3 separate regions of the Homo sapiens genome follow, and all the other regions are linked to region 3. The links are contacts of gene promoters, found by promoter capture Hi-C in blood cells and fetal thymus (Javierre and others, 2016). All regions are on one chromosome and are shown on one strand. The core of a region is centred on a gene start or on the middle of the fragment in contact, and the rest is flanking DNA. Distances in the headings are between cores, read along the strand shown. Region 1 holds the start of VPS36 (vacuolar protein sorting 36 homolog). Region 2 holds the start of SUGT1 (SGT1 assembly cochaperone of MIS12 kinetochore complex). Region 3 holds the start of FNDC3A (fibronectin type III domain containing 3A).

Region 1 (3,902 bases), core at 736-3,235, 3.5 Mb after region 3:
TTGCTGCTTCAACAATGTATCTTTCATATAAAACTACTAATGGTTGTTATTTTACACTGTTTTAAATCTATCACAGCTATACTGCCTGCCAGCAAAGGTGTTCCTAGTCTTCAAATTGGAGTTCCATAGAACAGTATCATGCCATGCTCTGCAAAAGCATGACTTCCTAGTGCTCCCTCAGGGAGTGGCACTGGAGGAGTCTCTGAGGACAGATCTAACACTGTCAACATTCGGTTCCTCTCAAAGGGGAGGCAAAATCAAAACACCGAGGAAGGGGAGGTGGATTAACCTTCCCATTTTAAATAGTCACAAAGATGTAAATTGGTAAGAAAGGAGAAAAAAATAGCTTGTCACTCCAATCCGGGGATGGAAGACTCATCTTGAGATCAAGATAGTTAAAGTGCCAAGGCAGGCTGGGCACAGTGGCTCAAGAGCCTGTAATCCCAGCTGTTTGGGAGGCCCAGGCGGGCGGATCATTTGAGGTCAGGAGTTAGAGACCAGCCTGGCCAATGTGGTGAAACCCCGTCTCTACTAAATATGCAAAAATTAGCCGGGCATGGTTGCAGGCGCCTGTAATCCCAGTTACTCAGGAGGCTGAGGCAGGATCTTGAATCTGGGAGGCGGAGGTTGCAGTGAGCCCAGATCGCGCCACTGCACTCCAGCCTGGCGATAGAGCGAGACTCTGTCTCAAAATAAATAAATTAATTAATTAAATTAAGAAGTGCTAAGGCAGTAAGTGAAGTTAGGTCCAAGCAAATTATTTAAGGAAAAGACCTTTACTCACTAATACAGGCAACACAGCCCATAGAAAATGCCCTAAGAGAGTCAGAGGACCTGGGTCCAATGTCACCTGTGCCTCTAAATAGCTGTAAGCACTTACCAGGAAAAGCTGAGTTGAGGAACTTATATCAAAGTACAGCGGAAAGTGTCGTTAATAAAACGGCAAGGGAAGAGAGGTAGCAAATTAAAACTTCTGGAAACCAAAAATGCTTGTGGGTAAATGAGTTTTAAAATTTTTCTAATTCCAGTTTATCCATTTCAATCCAGGACAAGATATTTCATAGTTTCAGTAAAGTATCTACAAAATATTTACTTACACTTCCTATTTCTCCTCTCGATTTGCAAACGCACCTTCTAAGATTTATGCTTGCACTACAAGGCACGGTCTACTATTAATATAACACTTTACAAAACACGCTCAGAACGCCTTTCTAAAGCAATTAGAAAACAAAACAAAAACCCAATAGCCTTTGGCAAGGGCATTCCAATGAAGCACTGATACCTCTTTAGGAAATCCTTTCGAAGCAATCCCTCACCCCTCTGCCCAGATATGCTAATCCCTCCGACTGCATAAGGTCCAAGCTAAAGCTTCCGCTGGGGCACGGACTGTACGGCCACCGCGCCCTCCTCACAGAAAGGCGAAACGGGGCTGTCCGGTGCCGACGCCGAGGTTGGTGTCGTCAGGGGGTCTGGAACCACGCCAAGGAAGTCGACTGCCGGATCGCCGCCCGGCGCCCGCAGACGGCGAGCGCTCCTTCTCCCGGGCACTGCAGCTGTGCGCTCCCGGAAGCATTCCGGGCGGAGGGAAGCGGCCGCGATCCGCGCCTGCTGGGAACCGTGCCAAAGTTGGGACCCGCGCTGGGGAGGCAGCCGAGCGCCCCACGCCACGTGCTACCGACCGGCGGGGAGCGCAAGAGCGCTGCACCCCGCACAGAGGCCTGCCGGGCCGCCGAGGGCCGTGAGCTAAGCCGGGGACCGGGCCGCGCCGACCCGGGCCGCGCTGAGCCGGGCCGCGCGCCCACCGGGGGTCCCTTCCGCCAGCCCGTTGGGAAGGTTGGCAGACGCCCTACCTTCTCCTCGCCATCGTAGATTCGCACCCCGCGCTGCTGGATCACCAGGGTCTCGTTGATCTCCAGGAGGCCGCTGGTCCAAACGAAGCGGTCCATGGCCGCTGCCACCCAGCCCCGGCCCTCCGAGGCCGCGAGCAGCGCGCCAGGCAGCCTGCGGCGCCCCCTAGCGTCGGACGGGACGGAAGCGAGTCGGGGCGGGTGAGGGACGGAGGGAGCGGCCTGGCAGCGAGCGGGCGCGGCTGCGAGGTGCGCCCGGGGACGTGGAGACGTGCGTGGAGCGCCCCCTGGCGGTCCATTAGCCGCCGGCCTTTCAGAACCCTTGATCAGCAGGCGGTCCACCCCATTCTAAATTCAGAGCTTACAGGGACGCGAGGGAGCCCCGACCACAGCTTGGACTTGCTTATTGTGCATTATGCCTGCATGTTTGTGGCAGTTTTCTTGTCAGTGCCCAGAATGTTGCTACATTCGCTAATGATTGTAAATAATCATAACCCCTCTCTTTCAAATGAATATTTATGGCACGCATTGTTTCTGTACAGCTGCAGTCAGTACTACCTGTGCTGCTCTTTTTTTCCCTTTAAGATTATATTGTAACACAAAGGATAAATGCTTGAGGTAACGGATACCTCATTTACCCTGATGTGATTATTATACAGTGTATGCCTGTATCAAAATATCCCATATACCCCAGAAATATATACACCTATGTACCCACACAAATTAATTTTTTTTTAACTGGGGGAAACAGATTTTATTTAACCGGGCTTGATGCGCGCGCCTGTATTCCCAGCTGCTTCCGAAGCTGAGGCGGGAGGATTGCTTGAACCCAGGAGTTTGACACCAGTGGGCGACATAGAAAGACCCTTTCCCCCTCCACCCCAACTCCCCCACGCCACTCCACTCCCCCACCCCCAGGCTCAGAAAAAAAAGATTATTTTTATTTAGGCATTTTCAATATTAATACAGACCTCATGCGTGAATTTACATTTCAATATGTAGTTCCTCTATAATTTAGCTGTTTGTTGGTCTGCGCAAAGCCATCCATGGCCGCTGCTCTCACCCACCAGGCGGCCTCGTGCCCCTAGCCATTTCATTTTTGTATTTTGCTTTATAAATGGAACACCTGGCCGGGCGCGGTGGCTCACGTTTGTAATCCCAGCACTTTGGGAGGACAAGGCGGGCGGATCACAAGTCAGGAGTTCGAGACCAGCCTGGCTAACATAGAGAAACCCTGTCTCTACTAAAAATACAAAAAATTAGCCCGGCGTGGTGGCGGGTGCCTGTAATCCCAGCTACTCGGGAAGCTGAGGCAAGAGAATCGCTTGAACCCTGGAGGTAGAGGTTGCAGTGAGCCGAGATCGCACCATTGCACTCCAGTCTGAGCGACAGAACGAGACTCTGCTTCAAAAATAATAATAATAAATAATAAATAAATAAATAAATGGAGCAGCTTATAGATGTCCTTCTACAATTGATACATATTTTTCTCTTTAGGATTATTTTCTTACAGTGTCTTCCTAAAATAGAATGACTGCTTTAAAGGTTGTGAACACATTTTAGAGAGCCTACCACTTATTGGGGTCTTAACTAAGGCTGCGTGCCCACGTGGGCAGAGGGGCACAGGGGCAGAGGGACAGAGGGCAGGCTTGCTCTCTGCCCCCAGGGCTCCACATTTCCCCCAGTCGTGGAGTCAGTGGTCTGTGGCTAGGCATTAAAAGAAAGGAAAGGCTCTTTCCAATGAGTATAAGCCATCTCTCCCCCGAAATGAATTGCTACTTTTACCGTGTTCCAAAATCCTGTGTGTATTTTGGTCTATTTCTAAACAGTGTCTTCTGTATTTCATATCTTTCAATTTCCATCATGACCATATACCCAATAACCAAAAGTTCTTTGAAAACATTTGATTTGCTGTAATATGCTATCAATATATATCACAATTTACCATCATTGCCTGATTTTTGAGCATTTGATTGTTTACCAACTTTTTAGTCTTTTTTAATTGAAAGTAATGTGACCTAAGCATCCTAATCAGATGTGGAACTGTGCAGTTAT
Region 2 (3,787 bases), core at 406-2,905, 3.7 Mb after region 3:
TTTGAAAACTAACCAAGGTAATTCACAGTAACATTAAAAAATACAAATGAACATTTCAATAAAGGCAGAAAAAGCAGTTGATATTCAATGCTTTCCTCCTGATGTTATGACCAAGACAAGGAAGTCCATTATCACTGTTTTTATTCAATAGTGGAAACACTAGCCAGCAACAAAAGGCAAAAATAAATAAAAATAAAAGGTATAAAGGTTACAGAGAAGTTAAACCATCTTTATTCGTGGATTGCAAGATTTTGATCACAGAAATTCCGAAAGAATCTACAGAGTATTACAAATAACAAGGGAACTTAGCAAGATGCTTGCATATAAGGTCAGTATGTTAAAATCAATATTGTTTATTCTTACGAGTAGAATATAAAAAAGTCAAAATGCCATTTAACATTGTATACAAAACACTAAATACTCAAGAATAAATCTAATGAAAGATATATATGATCTCTATACTGCAATCTATCCAAGCACAGCTGCATTAAAATATAGATATATGTGCAATCTACAAAATATTGCCAGGAGAAATTAAAGACCGCTTAAATAAATGGTGGGGGAAGAATGATATTCATGGATTGAAGGACTTGTTGTTAAGATACTAGTTTTCCCAAACAGATCTATAGATTCAATGCGAGCCCAATAAAAAATCCCCCCCCTTTTTAACAAGCTAATTCCAAAATTCACCTAGAAATACAAAGGCCGTAGAATAAGCCAAAACAATCTTGGGAGAATAAGTTACAGGACTTAAAGATTTATTATAAAACTACATTAAATTAACATAGTTTGGTACTGGTATAAAGTTAGACAAAGACTACTCCCTCCCGCTCCTCAATCTGCCCCCATCCCTAGAACGTGCTGGCAGCTTTCTCCATCCGATCTGCAAGGGTTAAAGGGCGCTGAGGAAGGGCTGACCGACTGGGGTGGGAAACAAAGCGGCACTGAGATAACTTCAGGCCACCTTCCTCCCCTCAGTACCTTCGGATGAAAGGTTTCCCTTCTTGGTCTGGGAAGCCCACTAAGAAGAAAGCCTGGGCTGTGGCGTTCTGGGGAAGTGAATAGTACGGCCGCCGGGCGCGTCGCCCCAGGAACCAGAAGGCTTTTTGCCGCTATTAGTGCAGAATGACTTCCGGCAAGTCCCAGTCGTTTAGAATCCCCAGCCCAAAGATCGCGGGGATCCACGCGTCATCCGGGCCTCTGCTCCCGGAAGAGACCACGCAGCCGCTAAAGACGTAATGGAGGCGAAAGGGCTTGGCTAGCTGTGGCAGCCATGATAAAAACTAGGGAAAATGGGAGCTCGAAGTAGCTTCCGTTATTAACAGACATACAAACGCCCCTAACCGCCACACGTTCCTTAGGGATGACAGTACGTTACAAAAGTGCTTCTAAAGTACTACTGAAAGCTCCGTGGGAGTGCCCGCTGGCGTGGGCGCGGTGGAAGGGAGGAAGAACGTGTACGCCCCAGGCCTCCGTAACCATGGCTGCGAGGGGCGGGGACTGGGAGCGCGGGTCCTGGGCCGGGGTGCGGCTGGGAGGAATCGGTCCTCCACTGTCCCAGCCGGCCCCGCGCCGGCGTGTCGCCTCCCGTCCCCCTAGCAGCACGCTGCGTGGCTGCTCGCTGGCTATTTAGGACGGAAGCTCGGTTGGTGTTTCTCCAGAAGTTTCCCCCTTGGGCGGTGGTGGAGGTGGTAACCGTGATAGTAGCAGCTCCGGCGGCAGCAACAGCGACTACGAGGGATGGCGGCGGCTGCAGCAGGAACTGCAACATCCCAGAGGTGCATGTTTTTCTTTCCCTTTGGTATTTATTTTATCCCCCTTTCCTTGGCTAGTGAGCCCTGCTGAAGTCGTTGTTTTCCTGACAGGTTTTTCCAGAGCTTCTCGGATGCCCTAATCGACGAGGACCCCCAGGCGGCGTTAGAGGTGAGAGAGCCCATTTCTGCTTCCTCCACTCTTCTTAGGGGAGCTGGGCCACTTCGGGTCCCCGCTGACCCGCCTTCTCCCCGCACCGCCGGACAGGGACCCAGGCTCTTGTTGATGCTGCGTCTCAGCTCCGGTATTGAGATTCTCCGTCTCTTTTCTCTGTTACACGGTAGCCGCGTTACCCCAGACTCCTGTCTTGCCCTTTCCACTCCCTACAGCTCCTGAGAAAAACCTCCTCTATTTCTTGGGAGCATGGTTGGCATTTGTAGTTTGGCTGAAAGGATTTTTTTTTTAATGACATTTATGATTAGAGAAGTGGACTCTGGGCTCGATGAAGTTAATTTTTTCGTTTGACAATAATTCTTGCCATTCTTACGTAAAAGTGTCGGTATGAAGTCAGTCTACTGGAGCAAAACCCTTTTCCCTCACGTCCCTGAAACTTTCCAGATGTCTTATCACAATTCATTATTCACTCATTTGTATATTCATCAAAATTTTTTTTTGGAGTGGCTGTGTGCAAAGGCGCTGATTGCTGTGGGTTAAAGTCTTGGTTATATACTCAGCTAACCTAGAAATCACTTTTTGTAGGTGTGCAATGAAGGCAAACCATAAAGCTGTAAAGGAATGTAAAAGATCAAGAGTTAAATAATAAGAATTAAAGGAGAACCTAAAGATAAATGATGCTGCGGGTCACAGAATTTAGCCAGGAGTTTTTGTTTGTTTTTGCGTTAAATCACAGAAAAGAGGAAACCTGTTTTGCTGTTACGTTTAACAATTTGAGGCAAGACAGCGTCTTTTCTAGCTATGACTTTTATAAGAAATGTGCCACATGGTACTAGAGCCTCCGTTGAGGAGATCTTTGAGTGGAGATTTGAAGGAACAAGGGAATTAACTTGGAAGCTCTGGGGAAAGAATATTCCAGGCAGGACCAAGAGCCAGTGCAGATCTTGAGGTAGGAATGAAGTTGGCCTGTATGTGAAGCAACAAAAAGGCCCTTTTTATTAGAGGGCCCATTTGATTAAGAGAGGTTGGACAGGAAACTAGGAGCCAGGTCCTATAAGGCCTTTTAGGGTCCAGGTGTGTTTTTTACACCTAAATATATAGACCTTTAGATACTGGGAGTAAGGCTTCTGGGATGAGTTTGGGGATAATGTTACAGGAAGCACTGAGAATTTTTCTCCATAATTTCTTGTATTAGCTAGACAGCTATGACTTTTAATTTACATTTGTTATTGTCGTGTTAGACCTAGTGCTTCCTTTGGGAATCCAGTTTATATAAAAGTTGCTTTTAAACAGTATTAACATAATGAATTTTATTGTCACTTTCCATCTTCTTTTACTTTAAAAATTTTTATGGAGGCATATATGATTTATGTAAATAACACAGATTTTAAGTCTATAGTTTGATGAGTTTTCACATGTTTACACCACCAGATTAAGATACAGAGTATCTCCATTCATAATGCTCCTTAATGCGCCTTCTCAGCCAGTAATTCTTCTTACTGTCCTGCTGACTCCTGCTTTGACCTCCATCACCATCAGTTAGTTTTGTTTGTTCTTGACTCATAAACAGAATCATACAGTAGGTGCTTTATTGAATGTAGACACTCTTTTTGCTTTAATGATTACATAAGTATACATTCATATTGTGTGAAGTAGTAGTTCTTTCGCATTGCTGTGTAATATTCCATTGTATAAATATATGTTGTATAGCCGTAAGTACGGCGCAATTTATTCTAACAGTGGACATCTGGGTTATTTCTAGTTATTAGCTAACAAAAAGCTTCTGTGAATACTCTTGTACATGTATTTTGGTGAACACATGCATTTCTTTTGGTTGTATGTACCTAGGAGAAGAATTGCC
Region 3 (3,766 bases), core at 112-2,611:
AGGGCCAAATCCAAAAGTTAAGAAAAGGAAACATCTCTCACAGGGAAAGAACTTCTGATAGTGAAGAGCAATGAAAATATCTCAAGATACCACTGCCCTATTTACAACCAGAAGAAAAGAAACCTCTCATTAGCTGGCTGTGGACATAAACATCCCATCAATCTTCACCTGGAGCCGCAGAGAAAACCAGCCGAGAAAGGAGAGAAGAATGAAAAATAAACAGTAAAGCAGAAAGAATAAGAGGAAGGATCAGAGTGGATAGAGGCAGATGAGGAGATGAAAAGCAGTGAAGGATTTTAGAAGAGGTGATGAGAACATTCCAAAGAGGGAAAAAAAGAGAGCACCAAAGTAGGGATTCTATACACCGCAGCAATCCTCTGGGACTTAAACGTATGGCCAAGATATCGGTTTGAGAGTCAGTTATCAACAAAGGATTTAATTAGCCATTGTATTCTTTAAGAATATAGAGAATAATCACATTTTAAAGAGATTTCTGTAAAACAGTTTTAAAAATACAGCTATTTTAAAAGATCGCACAATTAATACACTGAAATAAAGCCCAGACATGCAACTTGTTACATCCATCACCATTTTTGAAAGGACAGTTCCTGAGGCTGGACTCACCGGCCCAAGTACTACCCCCTCCCCAGGTCTCCGGCGGCAACTGTAAGTCAAAAGCCCTCAGGCATTATTGCAGCGTCCCACATTGTTTGAGGTTCCAGGAAGTCGCTGCTACGCTCACTTGTAAGTCTTCGTGCTGTTGTAAAAATTGAGGTCGTGGTTTTCCACGCGATTTGGCTGGCGAAGAGACCACGAAGCCACCCCCCACGTTTTCAACTGAGTAAATATCTAAATATTTTTGCTTGCTATCCAGATCCTGGGTTCGAAGTCTTTGGGATTAGAAACTTCCAAGCCCATTTCAGAGGCTTCCTAGTCCTTGGGAGGAGTGTCTTTTAAAGCACCTGCCAGCCTTAAGTTCGCGTGCTTTCGGAAAGGGGCCGACAGGGTGCGTCTCAGGGGAGCCTTTTGAAATGTGGATTGAGAATTGTGTGAGTGTCTCTAGGAACCTCCATTAACTCCACTTTTCCTGAGTGTAGCTCCGAGCCTGGCCACAGCGGATGCTACCACAAGCCAGGCGCAGCCGGGCCTCGGGAGAAAGCCGGAAGCCCGAGAGGGTGTGGGCGCTCCGGGAGCCAAACGCGGCCGCTCAGCCGCCACGCGCCGGTGGCCCCGCGGGGACTCGCGTTCCGGTGAGAGAGCCCCGGCGCGGCGGGCTCGAGGCGGGGGTTCGGGGTCCCGGCCGCGGGCTCCGTCGGCGGGGCCCGCGCAGCCGCACTCGGCGCGCCGACTTCGGGCTCCTCCTCCCGGCTCCGTAGTAAGCATGGCGGCGGCGGCGTTCGTGGTCCCTCGGGTGAAACAGAAAGCGGGAGCTACGCGGAGAGGGAGCGAAGAGCGGGGCTGAGGCGGCGGCGTCACTGCCAGGAAACAACCCCAACAGTCAGCGCGCCGGCGGCCGCGGCGGCCCTGAGAGCTGACTCTGCAGCTGAGGTAGAGAGACAACGATCAGGAACCCTAAGAAGAGGCGCCAGAGGAGCCGCCTTCTGCCTCAGAACGGCGTGACTCGGAGGTGAGAGCGCGGGCACTCCCTCCGCGAAAGGCGGGGGACACCGAGCCGTCCCAACCCCGTCCCGCCCCGGAGGAGGCGCCGCGGAAACCGTTAGGCTGGGACTGAGGGCCGGGGCACTCTCCAGGGCTCGGCCCCGTCGAGGGGCGCGGACCACCCCCTTCTGTGGGCGCGCTGTGGGCAGAGGTGCAGAGGGGCAGTGGGGCCGGGGACAGGACCGGTCTACTAGTCGGGCACCTGCCGGGGCCGAGCCTAGCCAGGACACGCTTGCGGGGGCGCGGCCGGGGGCGCCATCCAGCCCAAGAGGAGGCGGCATCTAGCCCGAGGGAGGTGGCGCTGGTGCGCGGGCGGCCCTTCTCTCTGTCCCCCGCCTCCTCCCCGCGGCGAGCCGCGTAGCTCCGGAGGGCTCGGGGGCGGGGGCGGGGGCGGGGGCTGGGGCGGAATCCTCCTGAGAGGATCGCCCAGCACCCGCGGCGCCTTCGGCTTTGGCCGCCCGGCAGCCGCCGAACTTGAACGCTTTTCTGAAGAGAGTTTTCCCCGCTCATCTTGGGGTTAAAACCTCGAAAACCCGCCCTCTGTTTGATCCTGCGTGGCTGCTTCCAGTACCTGGCAGTTCCTCTCCCCGGGCGAGTTAACCACCTGTTCAGTCGGGAGGTGGACTCGAGGCTGCAGTCCTCGCCCGGTTTTAACAACCTGGATCTTCGAACTTTTGACACGGCTTTGGAAACGACGTCATGTGTTAGGTAAAGGAAAATGAACAGATAATTTCGCTGTCAGATTGCGAGCAGAAGAGGGACTGTTTTAATGGATGTGGTCGTTAATTGTTCTTTTATTCAACTGTTAGCGTTACAAGCCTTGGGATATTTTAGAGGGTGGAATGCGATGATTTGCTGGGGGTGCTAGAGATTGTGAATTCGAGATTTTCTTTTGTGAGATTTTACGTAAGTTCCTTTGGACACCTTTGTGTCTGACCATCTATTAAATAAGAGTCGCAGGCTGATGAGATTTTTTTTTTCTTTTTGCGGTATAATCATTATGTGTTCACTATGGGTTTTTAAAACCGAACAACGTAATTATTTTGCTTCTTACTGTGGTCTGTGTTTTTTAGTTCTTGAAACCAAAGTGTGTATGCTTCTGTATTGTAGGAATGAAATAACAGTTGAACTCTTACTATAATATTTTATCACCATGCTGTTACCAGCTCCAGTACTAAACATACGCCACTCAGGAGTTTGAGCCATATGTTAGGCAGAAACGAATTGAGTTTTGTGGTTCTGATCTTATGTTTGGATAAATATTTAGTTTTTGCGTATTTACTAACTCTTGTCATCTTGTGTCACCCACAAATGTTCAAGTGAGTTGAATCCCCTGTCTTTTGGATATTTTCTTGGTTGAATTAATTTTTCTTAAGTAATGAGATGAAGTACTCACTGAGACAGATGGTGGCCCAACAGAAAACAGTGATGAAGGATTTTTACCACATCTTTTATGAAATATAACCTGAAATGTTGCTTTTAGCTTTGTAGCCTACTAATCTTGCTTTCTAATCACACCAGTTAGTGGGAAGAAGGGATGATGACAGGAGAAACATCTTGTTAAAATTTTAATATTAAATCTTATATTTAAATTTTTTAGCACTACTACATTAAATTTTACTATATTGTCTTGTTTCATTTCATAGATCATCTGTTAGTTTTCTATGTGTAGGTTAACTGGAAAATTTTTTATCCCAGGCTGGCTACCGTTAGCCACCTGTATGCTTCTGAATTAACTCCCTCTTTTTCCCTTTTGTCTGAATCCTCCAAATCATTGAATGCTCCGGAAAAATAAAATCCTGGTTAACACTGTCAAGCATAGTTATAAGGGTAATTAATTTATCCCAAATTAATAATAAGCATTAAAAAAAACATTCTAGGATTATCTTCTTTTGGTGACGTCTGTGTCTTCACTTCCTCTATCTGTGTGAGTAATTGAGACCTGATTTATTTTAACACACATGTAATGATTACTCTTTACTAGTCACATTTCTACAATATAATAGTAAGCATATTTTATTACTAATTTAAAAATTTCTCCCTCTTCCCTGACCAGCCAGACATAGCTAAGGGCTGAGACATCCTTAACCCCCCGAAAAAAAGAGGG

The links. The method cuts DNA at HindIII sites, captures the fragments that hold promoters and counts their contacts. A CHiCAGO score of 5 or more calls a contact.
Region 1: the fragment with the promoter of VPS36 here is called in contact with the fragment with the promoter of FNDC3A in region 3 in 1 of 17 cell types (fetal thymus); the score reaches 6.5 in fetal thymus.
Region 2: a contact is called between the fragment with the promoter of SUGT1 here and the fragment with the promoter of FNDC3A in region 3, in 4 of 17 cell types (total CD4 T cells, naive B cells, total CD8 T cells and 1 more). The highest score is 6.3, in total CD4 T cells.

What each region holds. Positions count from the first base shown.
Region 1 is chr13:52,448,649-52,452,550 of GRCh38, forward strand. VPS36 (vacuolar protein sorting 36 homolog) reads right to left here and starts at 1,986. Exons shown (of 14, transcript NM_016075.4): 1 at 1,851-1,986. The coding sequence starts at 1,946. RefSeq lists an enhancer at 1,572-2,152 and silencers at 1,673-2,132, 2,173-2,232. The HindIII fragment of the contact is 2,912 bases long and covers 1,367-3,902 here.
Region 2 is chr13:52,651,181-52,654,967 of GRCh38, forward strand. It overlaps SUGT1 (SGT1 assembly cochaperone of MIS12 kinetochore complex), which reads left to right and starts at 1,656. Exons shown (of 13, transcript NM_006704.5): 1 at 1,656-1,778; 2 at 1,866-1,923. The coding sequence starts at 1,741. SUGT1-DT (SUGT1 divergent transcript) reads right to left here and starts at 1,127. Exons shown (of 1, transcript NR_170300.1): 1 at 125-1,127. RefSeq lists enhancers at 957-1,296, 1,406-1,907, 2,017-2,136 and a silencer at 1,387-1,656. The HindIII fragment of the contact is 4,517 bases long and covers 1-3,704 here.
Region 3 is chr13:48,974,551-48,978,316 of GRCh38, forward strand. It overlaps FNDC3A (fibronectin type III domain containing 3A), which reads left to right and starts at 1,362. Exons shown (of 26, transcript NM_001079673.2): 1 at 1,362-1,627. RefSeq lists enhancers at 567-626, 897-1,516, 1,327-1,626, 1,517-2,136, 2,297-2,396 and silencers at 1,077-1,346, 1,677-2,156. The HindIII fragment of the contact is 6,136 bases long and covers 1-3,766 here.